Linked DNA regions of Homo sapiens: all the other regions are linked to region 2. The links are contacts of gene promoters, found by promoter capture Hi-C in human tissues and cell types (Jung and others, 2019). All regions are on one chromosome and are shown on one strand. Each heading gives the region's core, a stretch centred on a gene start or on the middle of the fragment in contact. The rest is flanking DNA. Distances are from core to core; before and after follow the strand shown. Region 1 overlaps ATG2B (autophagy related 2B). Region 2 holds the start of AK7 (adenylate kinase 7). Region 3 overlaps AK7 (adenylate kinase 7).

The links. Contacts are between HindIII fragments. The study calls those that stand out against the background at their distance.
Region 1: a contact is called between a fragment that was not itself captured here and the fragment with the promoter of AK7 in region 2, in 4 of the 25 tissues and cell types used here (H1 embryonic stem cells, adrenal gland, psoas muscle and 1 more).
Region 3: a fragment that was not itself captured here is called in contact with the fragment with the promoter of AK7 in region 2 in 1 of the 25 tissues and cell types used here (H1 embryonic stem cells).

The regions. Positions count from the first base shown.
Region 1 is chr14:96,350,502-96,353,502 of GRCh38, forward strand. All of the region lies in intron 1 of ATG2B (autophagy related 2B), which reads right to left. Among named protein-coding and RNA genes, the nearest start is that of ATG2B, 11 kb to the right of the region's middle. The HindIII fragment of the contact is 9,607 bases long and covers 1-3,001 here.
Region 2 is chr14:96,390,792-96,394,250 of GRCh38, forward strand. AK7 (adenylate kinase 7) reads left to right here and starts at 1,337. Exons shown (of 18, transcript NM_152327.5): 1 at 1,337-1,468. The coding sequence starts at 1,364. RefSeq lists a silencer at 897-1,406. The HindIII fragment of the contact is 16,997 bases long and covers 1-3,459 here.
Region 3 is chr14:96,441,044-96,444,295 of GRCh38, forward strand. It overlaps AK7 (adenylate kinase 7), which reads left to right. Exons shown (of 18, transcript NM_152327.5): 7 at 1,687-1,775. Among named protein-coding and RNA genes, the nearest start is that of AK7, 51 kb to the left of the region's middle. The HindIII fragment of the contact is 3,117 bases long and covers 24-3,140 here.

The sequences.
Region 1 (3,001 bases), core at 122-2,621, 40 kb before region 2:
CAATTTCAGTGGCATGGTGGAGCAAACCAGACTACAACAGGAGACAGACAGAAAGAACGTAAATGCGATTTTTAAAAGACAATTTACTTTTCAAATTAAAATAACATATTTATTAAACGCCAGCTTATATGTAAAGTGCTTCCTGCATGCTATATTGCATAGGGTAGTATAATTCTTTGTCTGTACCCTAGTGTTGAATAGTGAGACTTGATCGGCTCGTTTTATTTTTGGAGATCACTACTTTAAAAGGCTTTCTTCATGCTGACATTTGCATAATCCTAAAGACTTTCCCAGTAGTACATGGGCATGGATGGTTTTAAGGTATAAGCATCCAAACATATTCTTTCCTAAAATGGACTGAGAAGACTACAGACAGTGGTGGCATCATGCTGGGTCTCCTGTCCCATAGTTCCTTGTACAATCTTCCTTCTCCCATTTAGCCAAAATAGCCATATTCTTCCTCTCTTCAGAAATTCTCCCTTATGTACTGTCTAAGGTATAAAAACCTCCAGACAGGGCCAGCAGTACATTTTCTATCTTTTCCCATCTTATACTTTTTTTGGCATGACACTCAGAAATTCAAAGAACTCAGTGATGTTGCTCCTGCAAAATCTCTCAATTCTCATCTACTGATTTATAACATCAGTATTTCTCAAGCTTGTATCTACATTTTAATTTAGAATAAAATGTGTGCCGAGCCCTGCTGAATTCCAGCTATAAGTATATTCACCTATGGATGCACTAACAAATTAGGGAGGAGGGGATCACAACCAACCTCTATCATTAAGAAATTTATTTCCAGTAAAAGTTTTTATGTTTGCTGGGTACAGTGGCTCATGCCAGTAGTCCCAGCAATTTTGGAGACTGAGGCAGAAGGATTGCTTGAGTCCAGGAATTTGAGACCATCCTGGGAGACATGGTGAAACTCGTCTCTACAAAAAATACAAAAATTGGCCAGGCGCAGTGGCTCAAGCCTGTAATCTCAGCACTTTGGGAGGCTGAGGCAGGCAGATTGCCTGAGGTCAGGAGTTTGAGACCAGCCTGGCCAACATGGTGAAACCCTGTCTCTACTAAAAGTACAAGAATTAGCCAGGCATGGTGGCCCACGCCTTTAATCCCAGCTACTCGGGAGGCTGAGGTAGGAGAATCACTTGAACCCGGGAGGCGGAAGTTACCGTGAGCCGAAATCGCGCCACTGCACTCCAGCCTGGGCGGCAGAGCAAGACTCCGTCTCAAAAAAAAAAAAAAAAATTAGATGGCATGGTAGCCCGTGCCTGTAGTCCCAGCTCCTTGGCGGGCTAAGGTGGGGATAATCGCTTGATCCCAGGAGGTCAAGGCTGCGGTTGAGCTGTGATCACCCACTGCACCCAAGCCTGGGTGACACAGCAAGACCTTGTCTCAAAAAAAAAAAAAAGAAAAAAAAATTTTTATGCTTATCAAAATGCATAAATTTATACTGTTTTGATCAACTATACACTTAACAATAATTGTAATTACAACACAATCCAGAAGAAAAGTAACACTTAAAGCCCCATGATTATCTGAAGGAAATAAAGTTATGCATCACAGAAGGACATCTGGTCAATGACAGACCATGTATAGGATAGTGGTCCTGTAAGATTATAATGGAGCTGAAAAATTCCTATCACCTTAGTGACATCGCAGCCATCATAAGGCAATGTAGCACAACACATTACTCACATGTCTGTGGTGATGCTGGTGTAAATAAACCTCTTGCTCTGCCAGTCATAAGTCTAGCACAAACAGTTATACACAGTACATAATACTCGAGGGTGATAATAAACAACTATGCTACCGGCTTCTGTTTTAATACCTATACTATACAATTTAATCATTATTTTAGAGTATACTCCTACTTTAAAAAAAAAAAAGTTAACTGTAAAACAGGCTCAGGCAGTTCTTTCAGGAGGTACCCAGAAGAAGGCATTGTTATCATAGGAAAGGACAGCTCCATGCATGTTACTGTTCCTGAAGACCTTCCAGTGGAACAAGATGTGGAGGTAGAAGGTGGTGACATTGATGATCCTTACCCTGTGTAGGCCTAGGCTGTGTTTTTTTGCGTCTTAGTTTTTGACAAAAAAGTTTAAAAATTAAAAAAAAAAATTAAAAATACAAAAAAATGCTTATAGCATAAGAATATAAAGAAAAAGTATTTTTGCATAGCTGTACAATGTGTGTTTAAGCTAAATGTTATTACAAAAGAAACAAAAAGTTCAAAAATTTTTTTAAAGTTTATAAAGTTACTGTAACCTCAGGTTAACTTATTATTGAAAAAAAAAAGATGTCTTTATTAATATAGTCTAGCCGAAGTGTACAGTGTTTATTCTAGCCGAAGTGTACAGTGTTTATAAAGTCTACAGTAGTGGACAGTGATGTCCTAGGCCTTCACATTCACTCACTGACTCACTCAGAGGAATTTCTAGTCCTGCAAGCTCCATTCATGGTAAGTGCCCCATACAGCCATATCAATTTTTATCTTTTTAAAATTTTTATTTTTTATATTTTATGCCATATTTGTACATACCTTTTCTATGTTTAGATACACAAATACCATTGTGTCACAGTTGCCTACAGTATTCAGTAACATGCTGTGCAGGTGTATAGCCTAGGAGCAATAGGCTGTACCCTATAGCCTAGGTATACAGTAGGCTATACCACTGGGTTTAGGCAAGTACACTATGACGTTCACACAACAAAACTGCCTAATGACCCATTTCTCAGAACATATCCCTGTCGTTAAGCAACACATGACTGTACTGATAAAATGAATATAGTAAGCCCTAGAGCAACCACTAAGAAACAATTTAAAAATACATACTGGGCTGGGCATGGTGGCTCCCACCTGTAATCCTAGCACTTTGAGAGGCCAAGGTGGGCAGATTGCCTGAGCTCAGGAGTTCAAGACCAGCCTAGGCAGCATGGTAAAACCCTGTCTCTACTAAAAACCCAAAAAATTAGCCAGGCATGGTGACATGGGCCT
Region 2 (3,459 bases), core at 87-2,586:
ATAAATTAAAAATAAAAAGAACAAGAACGCTGGCGTGGTGGCTCATGCCTGTAATACCAGCACTTTGGGAGGACGAGGCAGGAGAGTTTCTTGAGCTCCGGAGTTAGAGACTAGCCTGGGCAACAAACATAGTGAGACCCTGTCTCTATTAAAAATAATAAAAAGAACGAGAAGAAACCACGCACACACAATTGCTGCAAGTGTTAAATATTTGCATTTAAGGAGTTAATGCTTAAGGCATGAAAACAGTTCAATATGATCAGGCTATTCCAAGGGAACTGCGTATTCTTAGTCCACCACAACCTTTATGGTCCAGTGATCACCGAGGTGAATGTTATCTTTTAATTTGTGGATTTATCTCAGCAACTGCATGTATAATCTCTTGTGGAACGGTCAAGTCTAAATTTCTTCCCTTGGTGAATGTGAGCGAATCCCGGGCGCCTACGGGCTCTGGTCGCCCCCAGCCGACACCAGGGGTCTTCCCGGAACGTGCGTCTGGAAACAACCCCCAAGGGAGCTGAGCCGGCGGACCAAGCCGCACCTGCCGCAAGGCGGGACCACGCTAGCGTCGCTCGGGTGTTCGGGAGCCCGAAACTCCATGGCAACAGCTTTTCTTCGCAGCTGAGGCTTACGTCCCGTCGCCCCGGCCAGACCACCCCATGGGAGCGTGCTGAGTAACTCCCACGTGTCGGGGAGAGGCCTAGGCTGTGGGCCATTCCCTCTTCTTCAGAATTCTCATTATTTTTAGTCATCGGGTCAAGCGGACACAGGGATGTGTTTCCAGACTTTCCGAACAATGGAGATTAAAAAGGCACAGCAATCACATGGCCCCCCGGGACAGACGCCCAGGGAGCTTCGGAAAGAAACCATGCACTGCCCAAGGGCTCCCAGTGGGCAGCAAGCCAGGGTGAGACCCGGGCTGCACGCGCGGCGCCGCGGAAAGCACTCGCAGGGACATCCGCCTGGCGCCCAGCAGCCGACAGCGCGCGCAGTTGCGAGCCCTGAGCCCCGCTTCGCCCGGCGCGCCCCGCCCAGCCCACTGCACTACACACCCCGCCCTGCCCGGCATGCCCCGCCCAACCCCCCGGCACGACTCGCCCCGCCCTACCCGGCACGCCCCGCCCAGCGACCGGCACAGCCTGCCCCGTCCCGCCTGGCACGCCCTGATTAGCGCCGGGCACGACACGCACCGCCCCGCCCGGCACTCCCTGCTTCGCCCACGACACGCCCCTCCCCGCCCGGCAAACTGCCCGGAGCCAAGGCCCCGCCCCCAGAGAGAACCTGCCCCGCCTCCCTGGCCCGGGCCCCGCCTCCTTGGCAAGCGAGTGGCGCTTTCACCTTAGCAACCAGCGCGGCTCCCACCATGGCTGAAGAAGAGGAAACTGCTGCTCTCACGGAGAAGGTTATCCGGACCCAGAGGGTGTTTATAAACCTGTTGGATTCCTACAGCAGCGGAAACATCGGGAAGGTGAGCGGCGGCGGCGGCCCAGAGCCTCACGCCAGCTCTCAGCTCCCAGCCCTCGGCCCCCGGTCCGCAAACCCAGCGAGGGTCTGCGCCCCAGGGCGCTGTCGGGGCCTTTCCTCAGGGAGGGTCCCGCGTCCTGGGCACCACCAATGCCCCCTGGACCCCAGTCCGCACCCAGGCTGGTCAAGAGATTCTACATGGAAGCTCAGGTGTCTGGAAATCACTGGTCCATCCCCTGTTCCTCCTTTTAATGAGGGGAAACTGAGGCTAAGAGGCAGGGACTTGCCCAAGATCACATAGAGAGTTGAGGCCAGAACCTGGACAGAGACTCCAGGTCTCTTGCCCCCTCCTAGGTTCTCTTTCTACCCTTCCATCGATTTTGAAGCAGGCAGCTAAACGAGAAAATAAATCAATTTTTTTTTTTTGAGACGGAGCCTTGCTCTGTCGCCCAGGCTGGAGTGCAGTGGCGCGATCTCGGCTCACTGCAAGCTCCGCCTCCCGGGTTCACGCCATTCTCCTGCCTCAGCCTCCGAGTAGCTGGGACTACAGGCGCCCGACACCGCGCCCGGCTAATTTTTTGTATTTTTAGCAGAGACGGGGTTTCACTGTGTTAGCCAGGATGGTCTCGATCGATCTCCTGACCTCGTGACCCACCCGTCTCGGCCTCCCAAATTACAGGCCGAGTAAATCCAAAAGGGATTACAGGCGTGAGTAAATCAAATTTTTATATTGCCCATGAAGCGTTTTTCATTCATCCATCCCTTCAATATATGGTTTTTGAGCATCTATTATGGACCAGACACTGTTTGGGTCCCCGAGTTCCATTAAGTTTCCTCACCTTTCTGTGTCTTTATCCCTGGAAAATGAAGATATTCAGAAAAAGGGCTCTGGGGCCCTTCATGCTAATATGATCAGTTGTCAAAAGAAAGCCATGATTTTATCATTCCCTGTGGGTAGGACCCGTCCATCTGAATTCTGTCCTCTAGAGCTACAGAGAAATCTAATCTCACCCTGGACAGACTTCTCTGAGGCTAATGACTGCACTTTCGAACAGGACAAATCTGCTTAAAATAGGATGAGGCTACAGTACGTACAATCTGTATTAGTTTTCTAGGGCTGTGGTAACCAATTGCCACAAACTGGATGACCTTATAAAACAGAAATTATTCTCTCGCAGTTCTTGAGGGCAGAAGTCCAAGATCAAGGTGTCAGCAGGGTTGGTTTCTACTGGAAGCTCCAGGGGAAGAACTGTTGCTTGCCCCTCTCCTAGCTTCTGGTAGTTGCCAATAATTCTTGGCACCCCTTGGCAGTAGACTCCAATCTCTGCCACCTTCTTCACATGGTGTTCTCTCCCCTGTGTCTCTGTGTCAAAACTTCCCTCTTCTCATAAGGACACCAGTTGTTGGATGAGGACTCACCCTATCCAATATGGCTTCATTTTAACTTGATTACATCTGCAAAGACCCTATTTCCAAATAAGGCCACATTCACAGGTTCTAAGAGGACAGGAATTTGGTGGGGGTAGACGCTATTTAACCCAGTGTACCATCTAAAATGCATCCATCAAAAAACAGAGATTTAGGGTGGGCGTGGTGTAATACTAGCACTTTGGGAGGCCGAGGTGGGTGGATCACCTGAGGTCAGGAGTTCGAGACCAGCCTGGCCAACATAGTGAAACCCTGTCTCTACTAAAAGTACAAAAATTAACCGGGCGTGGTGGCAGGCGCCTATAATCTCAGCTGCTCTGGAGGCTGAGGCAGGAAAATCACTTGAACCCAGGGGGCGGAGGTTGCAGTGAGCCGAGATTGCACCACTTCGCTCCAGCCTGGGCAACAGAGTGAAACTCCATCTCAAAAAAAAAAAAAATGGTGACATTTAATCTAACATACACAGGATGAGGCTCAAGCCAGAGAAAATAGTTCTCAGAGGGCACAGCAAAAGCACAGGTTCCAAAGTAGGAATAGGGTTGGCGGTTTTTGTATGCACAGTGCTAG
Region 3 (3,252 bases), core at 332-2,831, 50 kb after region 2:
CATTCTTTTGAGTCTTTGATCAGCTGTTCGACATGAGGGAAGGGTAGAGGAATAGTCACTTATGCATTTATCTAGCTCAGCGAATCTGCATTTTTATGTAAGATAAAATAGACATAGGGCCGAGGAAGCAATCAGATAGGCATTTGTGTCAGGTGAGCCTAGGGATGACTTTGAGTTCTGTCCTTGTCCTGTACCTGTGAAGATAAGCTGTCAATTTACATTGTCAGGGTGAAATTCAACAGAACTGTTTTCGGGTAAAGCTCTTGGGGCCTACAGATAATTTCATAGTGGGCAAATTGTGAGGAAGGTATGAGGCCAGGCATGGTGGTTCACGCCAGTAATCCCAGCATATTGGGAGGCTGAGGCGGGTAGATCACCTGAGGTCAGGAGTTCGAGACCAGCCTGGCCAACATGGTGAAATCCCATCTCTATTAAAAATACAAAAATTAGCCAGGTGTGGTGGCACATGCTTGTGATCCCAACTATTCGGGAAGCTGAGGCAGGAGAATCACTTAAACCTGGGAGGCAGAGGTTGCAGTGAGCTGAGATCCTGCCACTGCACTCCATCCAGCCTGGGTGACACAGCAAGACTCCGTCTCAAAAAAAAAAAAAAAAAAAAGAAAACAAAATAAAATCTTTGAATGAGAGACAGGTTTGCTTTATGTAGTTCCTAGCTTGACTTTTCCCTTTGGCTTAGTGATTTTGGGGTCCCAAGGTTTATTTTCCTTTCACATTACCCATCATAAAATTCCCAGTTACTACAGTCAGCCTCCTCAATGTCTCCCTTCTCTCCATCCCCACTCCCTGCACTTCCCACCTCCAGGCTAAGCTACCCTATTTCGCCTGCACACCTGCCATCACCCCTCTGTCCCCACTGGACTCTCCTTCCCGCCACTTCTCCACAAGGCAACAAAAGCAAGCCTGCTGGTGTCACATCACTGCTTAGAACCCTTCAATACTTTCTGAAAGTCCAAAATATCTTACAAGACCCAGTGGTCTACTGTGACCCCTACCCCTACCTCTTTCACTCTTAACAACAATTCAAAATAATCTAATATGTGACACTTAAACAGTACTCATCATGTCTGTTTGGTTACTGAAATACTTAATGAGAAGAAAAGATGAGGATTTGGACTCTGAGGATCGGGGTTCCAGTCCAAGCTCTCACAAGTGTATCCTCCTGCATGCTACTTATCCGCTAAGCATTTCACCCCTGGACTGATGGTACTTATTTCCCCTCACCTCATCCCTACTGGTGGGGGTAATTTTAAATTTTAATTTGTCTTTTTGTGAGAATTAAGACATCATGCATGTGAAAACATTTCTTCTCTATGTGAATGCCATGCGTATAGCTACTAAATACGGCTGAGAGGTTGTAGATTTCTTGAAAAGTATTTCAGTCCCAGGGCTACACATTATTTCTCTTGGCAGAATTTGATTCAGTCCCAGGGCTACACATTATTTCTCTTGGCAGAATTTGATTCAGTCCCAGGGCTACACACTATTTCTCTTGGCAGAATTTGATCCTAAATCTCATCAGGGCTGATTTATAAAACACCCCCTAGAGGAAATTACTTAAGCAGATAGCTAGGCCTTTCAGTTGCCTCTGACTGTAGACTTATGTGTGAGCTGTAATAGCCATCCACATATAACTGGGGGACATGATTTTGCTTTTCTTCCTTTCAGATGGCTTGGTTGGGCGAGATTCCTGCATTACCAGTTTTTGGCGATGGAACAAATGTAATTCCAACAATCCATGTTCTTGATCTAGCAGGGTAAGCATTCGCCCAGAGACGTGACCTTCACAGAATTGGTTAATGTGTTTGTTTGTAGCCTAATACTTTTTGAGCATTTGCCTAGTGCTAAGACCCTTACATGGATTATTGTGTTCATTCTTCGTAACAACCCTATGCAGAAGGTACCGTCTTCTCCATTTTGCATCTAATGAAATAGTGCCCACTGTTCAAAAGTTCTACATTTCTGGTGACAAGTTCAGGTTCATCTCTTAGAAACTATCGACAGAATAGCAATGCCCTCCAATTTTGGAAAAGAAAGAACTTGGTGTGTACATTCTGAGGACGTAGTTTCTTATTCCTTTGTCCCAGATGAGATTAATATGTCTAACCCGTCAACTTAAATTCTAGAATTCAAATGGAAAACTGTAAACCTGAAGCTTTTTCCTTCTTTGACAGTTGTAGGTAAAGTTGACATATGTTTTTTATACTCACAGAGCATCTAAACCCTGTATTCAGACAGGTCCAGAAACCCTTCTCTTCCTTTGAAGACCCTGACTTAAACGTGAGGTCAATGAGTTGGTTCACTGTGTTTGTGGTTCATCAGCTCCAGCTTCCGGGGACTTCATTCTGTCACCCCTGTGGCACATCCCCAGAAAGGAGCAATTTCTGCACTTCCCTGAGGTTCTGGTTTTCAGATTCCCACTCTTTCTCTCATCCACTGGCCACTAGTAAATTAGTCACAATCTCAGATAAATTTCTAGACTTACTGGGAAATGAAGGAAGTTTAAACTTCAGGGCCACACCCCTGAGCAGATCCCTTTCCAAGACCCTGAACCTAATTTTTATTATTTTTCTTAAAGAAGGATCCTATGAGTCAGGGATATCCAATCTTTCGGCTTCCCTGGGCCACATTGGAAGATTTGTCTTGGGCCACACATAAAATACACTAACACTAACGATAGCTGATGAGCTTTAAAAAAAATAACAAAAAAAACTCATAATTTTTTTTTTTGAGATGGAGTCTCACTCTGTTGCCCAGGCTGGAGTGCAGTGGCACAATCTCGGTTCACCGCAAGCTCTACCTCCCAGGTTCATGCCATTCTCCTGCCTCAGCCTCCCAAGTAGCTGGGACTACAGGCACCCGCCACCATGCCTGGCTAATTTTTTGTATTTTTTTAGTAGAGATGGGGTTTCACCATGTTAGCCAGGATGGTCTCCATCTCCTGACCTCATGATCCACCCGCCTCAGCCTCCCAAAGTGCTGGGATTACAGGCGTGAGCCACTGCGCCCGGCCCAAAAACTCATAATGTTTTAAGAAAGTTTACAAAGTGTGTTGGGCCACATTCAAAGCCATCCTGGGCCTCACGCAGCCCACAGGCCCTGGTTTGACAAGCTTGCTGTAAATGGGCTAAGCTTCAGGCACTACAAAACCCTGGATCTGCTCCATCCCTGGGGATGGAGGGGCCGAAACATACCCATTTTTTTCTGCAGAGATTTTACATTATGACATTACTG